Linked DNA regions of Homo sapiens: region 2 is linked to region 1. The links are contacts of gene promoters, found by promoter capture Hi-C in human tissues and cell types (Jung and others, 2019). All regions are on one chromosome and are shown on one strand. Each heading gives the region's core, a stretch centred on a gene start or on the middle of the fragment in contact. The rest is flanking DNA. Distances are from core to core; before and after follow the strand shown.

What was found. Contacts are between HindIII fragments. The study calls those that stand out against the background at their distance.
Region 2: a contact is called between a fragment that was not itself captured here and the fragment with the promoter of ZNF593 in region 1, in 1 of the 25 tissues and cell types used here (pancreas).

What each region holds. Positions count from the first base shown.
Region 1 is chr1:26,167,725-26,171,157 of GRCh38, forward strand. It overlaps ZNF593 (zinc finger protein 593), which reads left to right and starts at 2,184. Exons shown (of 3, transcript NM_015871.5): 1 at 2,184-2,459; 2 at 2,694-2,756; 3 at 2,851-3,149. The coding sequence starts at 2,260. The coding sequence ends at 2,992. C1orf232 (chromosome 1 open reading frame 230) reads right to left here and starts at 1,239. Exons shown (of 4, transcript NM_001364669.2): 1 at 692-1,239. The coding sequence starts at 775. It overlaps ZNF593OS (ZNF593 opposite strand), which reads right to left. Exons shown (of 4, transcript NM_001395468.1): 3 at 3,432-3,433; 4 at 1,797-2,874. RefSeq lists a silencer at 565-720 and an enhancer at 1,954-2,053. The HindIII fragment of the contact is 4,053 bases long and covers 1-3,214 here.
Region 2 is chr1:25,990,468-25,993,900 of GRCh38, forward strand. PAFAH2 (platelet activating factor acetylhydrolase 2) reads right to left here. Exons shown (of 11, transcript NM_000437.4): 2 at 260-396. The coding sequence starts at 349. Among named protein-coding and RNA genes, the nearest start is that of PAFAH2, 5.9 kb to the right of the region's middle. RefSeq lists an enhancer at 3,104-3,433. The HindIII fragment of the contact is 7,134 bases long and covers 1-3,433 here.

The sequences.
Region 1 (3,433 bases), core at 934-3,433:
AATTCTCCTACCTCAGCCTCCCAAGTGGCTGGGATTACAGGTGCACGCCGCCATGCCTGGCTACTTTTTTTTGTATTTTAATAGAGACTGGGTTTCACCGTGTTGCCCAGGCTGGTCTTGAACTCCTGAGCTCAGGCAATCCACCCACCTCGGCCTCCCAAAGTGCTAGGATTACAGGCATGAGCCACCGTGCCCGGCCCAGCCTGTTTTTTGTTGTTGTTGTTTGTTTGCTTGTTTTTTGTAATGTCAGAACAAAGCATGGTCTAAGTATGGCTTTGATCTGATGCTGCTGCAGTGACCTTTCTAGTACAGGCGCCACTCCCCCTACCTCTAGTAACATGGGGCTCACTACATCACTCCTACTTCTGCTCCCATTAGAAAGTTGTGTCCAGCTAAGTGTGCCCGTGTGCCTACTGCCCACTGGTCCTAGAAGAATCTCTTCCATGTGGCAGCCTCGAGATCTTTGGAGACAGTGGCCACTCCTCCCATGGTCCCTAAGTCTTTTCTTCCTCAGTTTTCTTGAATGTCCTGGCTTTCTGATGCTGCACCATGGTTTTTACCATCCCTGAATGTGGCATCTGCACAAATGTGGCCCCCCCACCTCCAAGCCTATCCTGTGCCCCACTTCATACTGCTCATTCCTGCTGCCCCTCTGCACATGCTCCACCCACCATGCATGGATGGCACCCACCTCCTCTGCCAGGTCTTCTTCAGATTCCCCACTCAGGGTCTGTAGCACTTTGGACTTGTAGGTTTTCCAGAAGGCCTGGTTCATGGCTGCAGGGGGAAGGGGCCTGGCACGCAAGCACAGGAAGGTGGTGGCTCAGTGGATACCAGTGAGTCTGGCTCTAGGAACTTGGTGAGGCCAAGAGCCTGTCCGAGGGATCCAGTGACTTCATTAAAGATGCACCAGCCTCCCCAGCTGGCACAGTGCCCAGGAGGTGAACCTGATCCAAAGGAGTCGGGGAGTGGGGGATGGAACAAGCTTCTGCCACCTTAGCCCCTTGTCTTGACCCATATTGGCCAAGAATAATGAAGTCATTTGTCTCTAGAGAGGCTTTCTTCCTGGGCCTAGGAGTACTTGAGTTGTTCATCTCTTAGCATGCCTCCAGGAAAATCTTCTTCCATTCACAAAATCCTGAGGTCTGGGACCCACACTGGAGCCCCTGTGACTGTAGTCATACTAGTTGTGTCCTCAGCAGGGCTCCACCCTGTGTCCCTACTTAGCCTCAATGAACTGGAGCAGGAAGGTCCGCAGGCCCCCAGTGGGCACCTTGGGCTTACATTTCACTCCTTTGTCTGGGCTGGAAACTGATTCCTCTCCCCAGGGATACACGTGCCTGTCTCCTTGTTTCCTGGCAACAGACTCCAAAGAGCTGGAGCCCCTGAATTATTGCTAAGCTCCTCTGGCCCCTTCCAGCTGAGTTGGCTCTGGCCAGCCTGGGAGGCACCAGGCTCCTGTGAATGGGGAAAGGCCCTCTAGCCACTCTGAGCATGCAACACCTAGGCCTTTGCTGCCAGCCCACCTCTGGGAGCCCAGGGCTTAGAGAAAGGAGGCAAAGATGGAGAGGTCCTTCTATGAGTACTTGTGAGAGGAACTGATCCCTCTGGAGTCTGGATGCCTGAGGACTGCACTCTCTGGGGAGGAACACCCTTCACGGATTTGGTTGGGGTCAGAGAGAGGATGGAGACTCAAGGGAATAACGGGAGCCCGGAGAAGTGAGGGCTTTTTCAGGGACTGGAGATTATCTCGGGAAGCCCTGGTGGGGCTGGGATTCCAAACTTATTCACTCTCAGTCATTTACTAATTTATTCATGACACAGACATTTATCAGTGCTTTCCAGAGATAAAGCATCCCACCCCCACCGCGGAGTCCAAGGTCTGGGAAACAGGAAGGGATGACAGGAGTACAGGTTGGCACTGATACTGGTTGGACCAGGCCAGGAAGAGCAGGGCAGCAAGACGGCCCCGAAACCCCCAGGCGCACGCACCACCCCGCGCCTCCCCAGCGAGGGCCCGCGGGGCCATGCCCTTCAGTGGGCACACTTCTGGGAGCCCGTCCTGAGCTCGGTCACTGACGTCGACGGCCGCCTGGCGGCGCTCGAGCCGCTGGCCGAGAGTGACGTCATCAGAGGCGGTCCGGCCGAGCCTGCCTAGCCCCCCGGCGTGGCCTGACGTAGCTGATCGGCCCGGAAGTGCTCACACGTGTGCTCCCTGCCCTGCTCCTGGCCCCTTGGCCGGCCGGGCTGTTTCTGGCCATGGGTCGCTCCCGCCGGACAGGCGCGCACCGAGCGCACTCTCTAGCCCGGCAGATGAAGGCGAAGCGGCGGCGGCCGGACTTGGATGAGATTCACCGCGAGCTGCGGCCTCAGGGATCCGCACGACCCCAGCCCGACCCAAACGCCGAGTTCGACCCCGACCTGCCAGGGGGCGGTCTGCACCGCTGTCTGGCCTGCGCGTGAGTCCCGGACGAGCCCGGCCTGGGGCGGAGGAGGGTCCGCGGTACCGGCCGGGAGATGTGAAGTTGAAGCCCCAGGCAGCGCAGAGTCTTCTCTCTTGGGACCCGTGGGTCCGCCCGCCTCCCGTTTCTCAGACCCGGATCCTGGCGTCAGGGACAAGCTAGGGCTAGGGAGATAGGTGCACTTGGGAGACTATCACCTCCTCACTCTCCTTCTCACTTCCATTCCTACAGGAGGTACTTCATCGATTCCACCAACCTGAAGACCCACTTCCGATCCAAAGACCACAAGAAAAGGTATGAAGGAGTAAGGAGAGGATTGATGGATGGGTGCTCAGCAGATAGGGCTCTCACCTGGTCAGCTCCCAACTCCTGTTTTTCTTTCTCCCAGGCTGAAGCAGCTGAGCGTCGAGCCCTACAGTCAGGAAGAGGCGGAGAGGGCAGCGGGTATGGGATCCTATGTGCCCCCCAGGCGGCTGGCAGTGCCCACGGAAGTGTCCACTGAGGTCCCTGAGATGGATACCTCTACCTGACATGGCCTGAAGATGCAGGGCAGAGGAATTGCCCATGGACAGTGACGCAAGGACTAGGCTGGGAGGGAGCGTGCCAACCCCTTTTGCCTCTGGGTTTGGGGAGCGGAGGGCCTCTTCTTGGTGCCCTGCCCCAAATAAAGGAACTGGACAAAGAGAACTTGCCTCCAACTCTAACTTCCAGGCCGCTGTCTCAAACTCCTGCCCTGGAAGGGCTTCTCTACTACTTTCTGTACACCAGGCCTAGGGTGTCTACTCCCCACTTGGTCTATCTCTGCCTTCCCTCTGAGGTCCTAGCATCTGAACTGGAGCACCCAGATGGAGGCCTGATGCAGTGTGGGGTGGCGGGAGTGGGATCAGATTACTCTGTCCTGCTTCTGACAGAGACTGATCCCCAGAAAAGAAGGCTTCTGAGATTGCACCCCCCTCCCGAGTCACCTACCC
Region 2 (3,433 bases), core at 464-2,963, 180 kb before region 1:
GCTGCCTCTAAAGCTAGAGTCCCCCCTTTCCTCCTAGGTGGAAAATGAACGCATTATCTCTGTCTATTGGGATGTTTCTAATGTTTGGAAAGAGGAAGAAAAAGCTCAGGAAGACAGACCTGGGGGCTTGATAACCAAATCCAGACCCGCTCTAATTCATTTTCCCCACCGTGGGAATACAGGATCAGACTTGTGATCAGTAAGTCACGGTGCCGGCAGAAGCAGTGCAAACAGAAGAAAGGGAGCTGGGGACACTTACCTGGAGATTCTGACCCTCCATCACATCCCCACAGCCTACGAGGTGGGGTCCTGTGACAGGTGGAAAGCCCACAGACTGGTTGACCCCCATTTCATCACCGGGTGAATCAAATGACTTGCCGGAGCTGAACTTGCTGGCTGGATGGGGGAACACAGAACAGCAGCCGCTTGCTGGTTTCCTCTCGGCTTCCTGTTGCTGAAATGTGTTATCTGTTACCCTGTCCACCCCTCCTTAGCACCTCATCCTCCCTGCCGTCGCTCATTAAATCTTGCACCTACTACTTTGCTACATTGCCTTTGCCAAGGTTGGGGGTTGTTTTTTATTTTGCTAGGGTGAGGAGATGGCTGGAAGACGAAAGAGAGCCATCCATACTCCTTACAGCCCATTAACGTATGTTTATCCAGCAGCTACTGCTGCAGAGACTGTCACACAGACCTTGCTCTCCTGAGGCTAATAGTAACCACTAAGATCCATTATTTACGGTTAGCACTGTACTGACCTCTTTATAGACACTATACACATTGCATCATTTCATTGTCTCAACCACTCTCTGAGGTAGGTACTTTTTTTTTTGAGACGGAGTCTCGCTCTGTTGCTAGGCTGGAGTGCAGTGGCATGATCTTGCTCGCTGCAACCTCCGACTCCCTGGTTCAAGCGATTCTCCTGCCTCAGCCTCCTGAGTAGCTGGGATTACAGGCACGTGCCACCATGCCCAGCTAATTTTTTGTTTAATTTTTAGTAGAGACGGGGTTTCGCCATGTTGGCCAGGATGGTCTTGATCTCCTGACCTCGTGATCTACCCACTTTGGCCTCCCAAAGTGCTGGGATTACAGGCGTGAGCCACCGCGCCTGGCCTGAGGTAGGTACTATTAAGACCTTGTTTTGGCCAGGCACGGTGGCTCACGCCTGTAATCCAAGCACTTTGGGAGGTCGAGGCGGGCAGATCACCTGAGGTCAGGAGTTCAAGACCAGCCTGGCCAACATGGCGAAACCCCGTCTCTACTAAAAATACAAAAATTAGCCGGGTGCAGTGGCAGGCACCTATAGTCCCAGCTACTCAGGAAGCTGAGGCAAGAGAATCGCTTGAACCTGGGAGGCAGAGGTTGCAGTGAGCCGAGATTGCACCACTGCACTCCAGCCTGGGTGACAGAGTGAGACCCTGTCTCAAAAAACAAACAAACAAACAAAAGACCCTGTTTTACAGATGAGGAAACTAAGGCATAAAGAGGTTGAATAACCTTCCCAAGTTACCCAGTGGCAAACCCATCTCTGCCTAATCCGGAAGCTAAGTTCTTAACCATTACTGATCCTGCTCAGGGGGAGATTCAGTTATACAGATGCAAAGTTACTGAACTAAGCTTTTTCTTAAAACCGTTTGATTTTTTTGAGAGACAGGGTCTTGCTATGTTGTCCAGGCTGGTCTCAAACTCCTGGGCTCAAACAATACACCTGCCTAGGCCTCCCAAGTAGCTGGGATTACAGGTAAGAGCCACCACACCCAGCTTTTAAACTACTGAATATGGGGTAGCACTTATGCTGGGCCTTTAAAGATGAGGAAGTTGAGAGGCAGGGGAGGAGGAAGAAAGCACTTATAGAAAAAATCCTAAGAGGAAAAAAAGCAGAGGTAGGGAAAAGTATGATGTGGGCAGTAGATCAAACAGATGCTTTCAGCATGACAGGCATGCACACTCCTGACTAGATAACATTCCTACGGCTCAGCTGCTTCCTAAACTGGTGCCAGTGCTCCCCTAACCCTCTTCAGTTTCATCATCTCCAACACCACCATCATCATCATACTTACTCTGTGCCAGGAACTATGTTTAGTGCTTTTCACATATTATTTTATTTAATTCTTTCAACAGTCCTCTGAGATACGTATTATTATCTCATTTTACAGATGAGGAAACAGATGCTTGACAAAGGCAATTTACCCAATAACATATGGCGAGCAGAGCCAGAATTCGATCATGGACAATGTGGTTGTAACATGAGAATGTCAAACTTCCCAGTGTCCCTTGCCTTGTGATTTGGGTGGGGCTGACCCCTCCTTAACCTCCGGAGTTGAGCCTTAATTAACCGGAGCCAATCAGTCCTTCTTATTCTCCGGTCAGTATTTGGATGAAAAGTGCGCGTATGGCATTAGGTTGGTCCAATAGGCGTAAAACCCGGGACTTTGGTATGACGGTTGAGGGGAGAAAAGTTATTTCCTGTGTTGGACTAGTGTGATGTGCAGATGTCACCTGTCAAGTGGCCTTGAACCACAGCAGCCACTTTTGCCACCTTGAGGATGAAGATACCCATGGTGGATGGGAAAACCAGAAGAATCACAGAGAAATAGAGGCCCATTTGTGAAGACATTAAGAATCCACAGATTAGACCATACCTGAAACCTGACCCACTCCTAGACTTTCTAGTTACATGAGTCAGTAAGTTCCCTTTCTTGGTTAAACCAACTGAAGTTAGATTTCTTTTGGTTGTAACCAAAAGCATCTAAATGGATACACACTGAGTCTGGGGTCCACATGTTAATGATTAAATTATTCTGCTTCCTTTAAGATGCTCTGGGAGGGATTCAGGAGTTCCAGTCAAAGCATGTCTGGGTAAGAAGAGACCTAAGGGAGCATTTCCGTCAATCCCCTCCACAATCGTTTTCCCCTTCTCCGCGTACATACACGTGCTTTACCAGGGAAGACACCAAGGTCCGGAGAGATTAAGTGAGCTGCTCAGAGTCACAAGCAGAACGATGATAACAACACACAGTCTCCTGGTTGTCAGCTGCCACTTGTCTGGTCTCAACAATCCTAACATCATTCTATTTAACTTTGAAAGATAAGAAATTATTTTCTTTCTACTACAGATAGCATCTTCATTTTGTTTCTTTTTAGCAAATTTAAAAACAAACCCAATTCTTTTGAAAAAGAAGCTAAGCTCCTGATGTCAGTGGGTTGTTCAGCCAGAGTGAAGGGGGATGAGCTCTGCTTAGCCTGAGACCCTGACCTTTCCCCATCGCTTGTTGTTGAGGTCTGCAAATGGAAGACCTACTGCTGGGGCCACAAGACACCTGTCACTCACATGACAATGAAGCAGCTGCAAGTTCAACTGTCATAAAAGAAAAGCAGATAAAAGACCACAGGAGTTCTGAGAAGAAACAGTGCTCCTTTAGCTTGGAAGTAG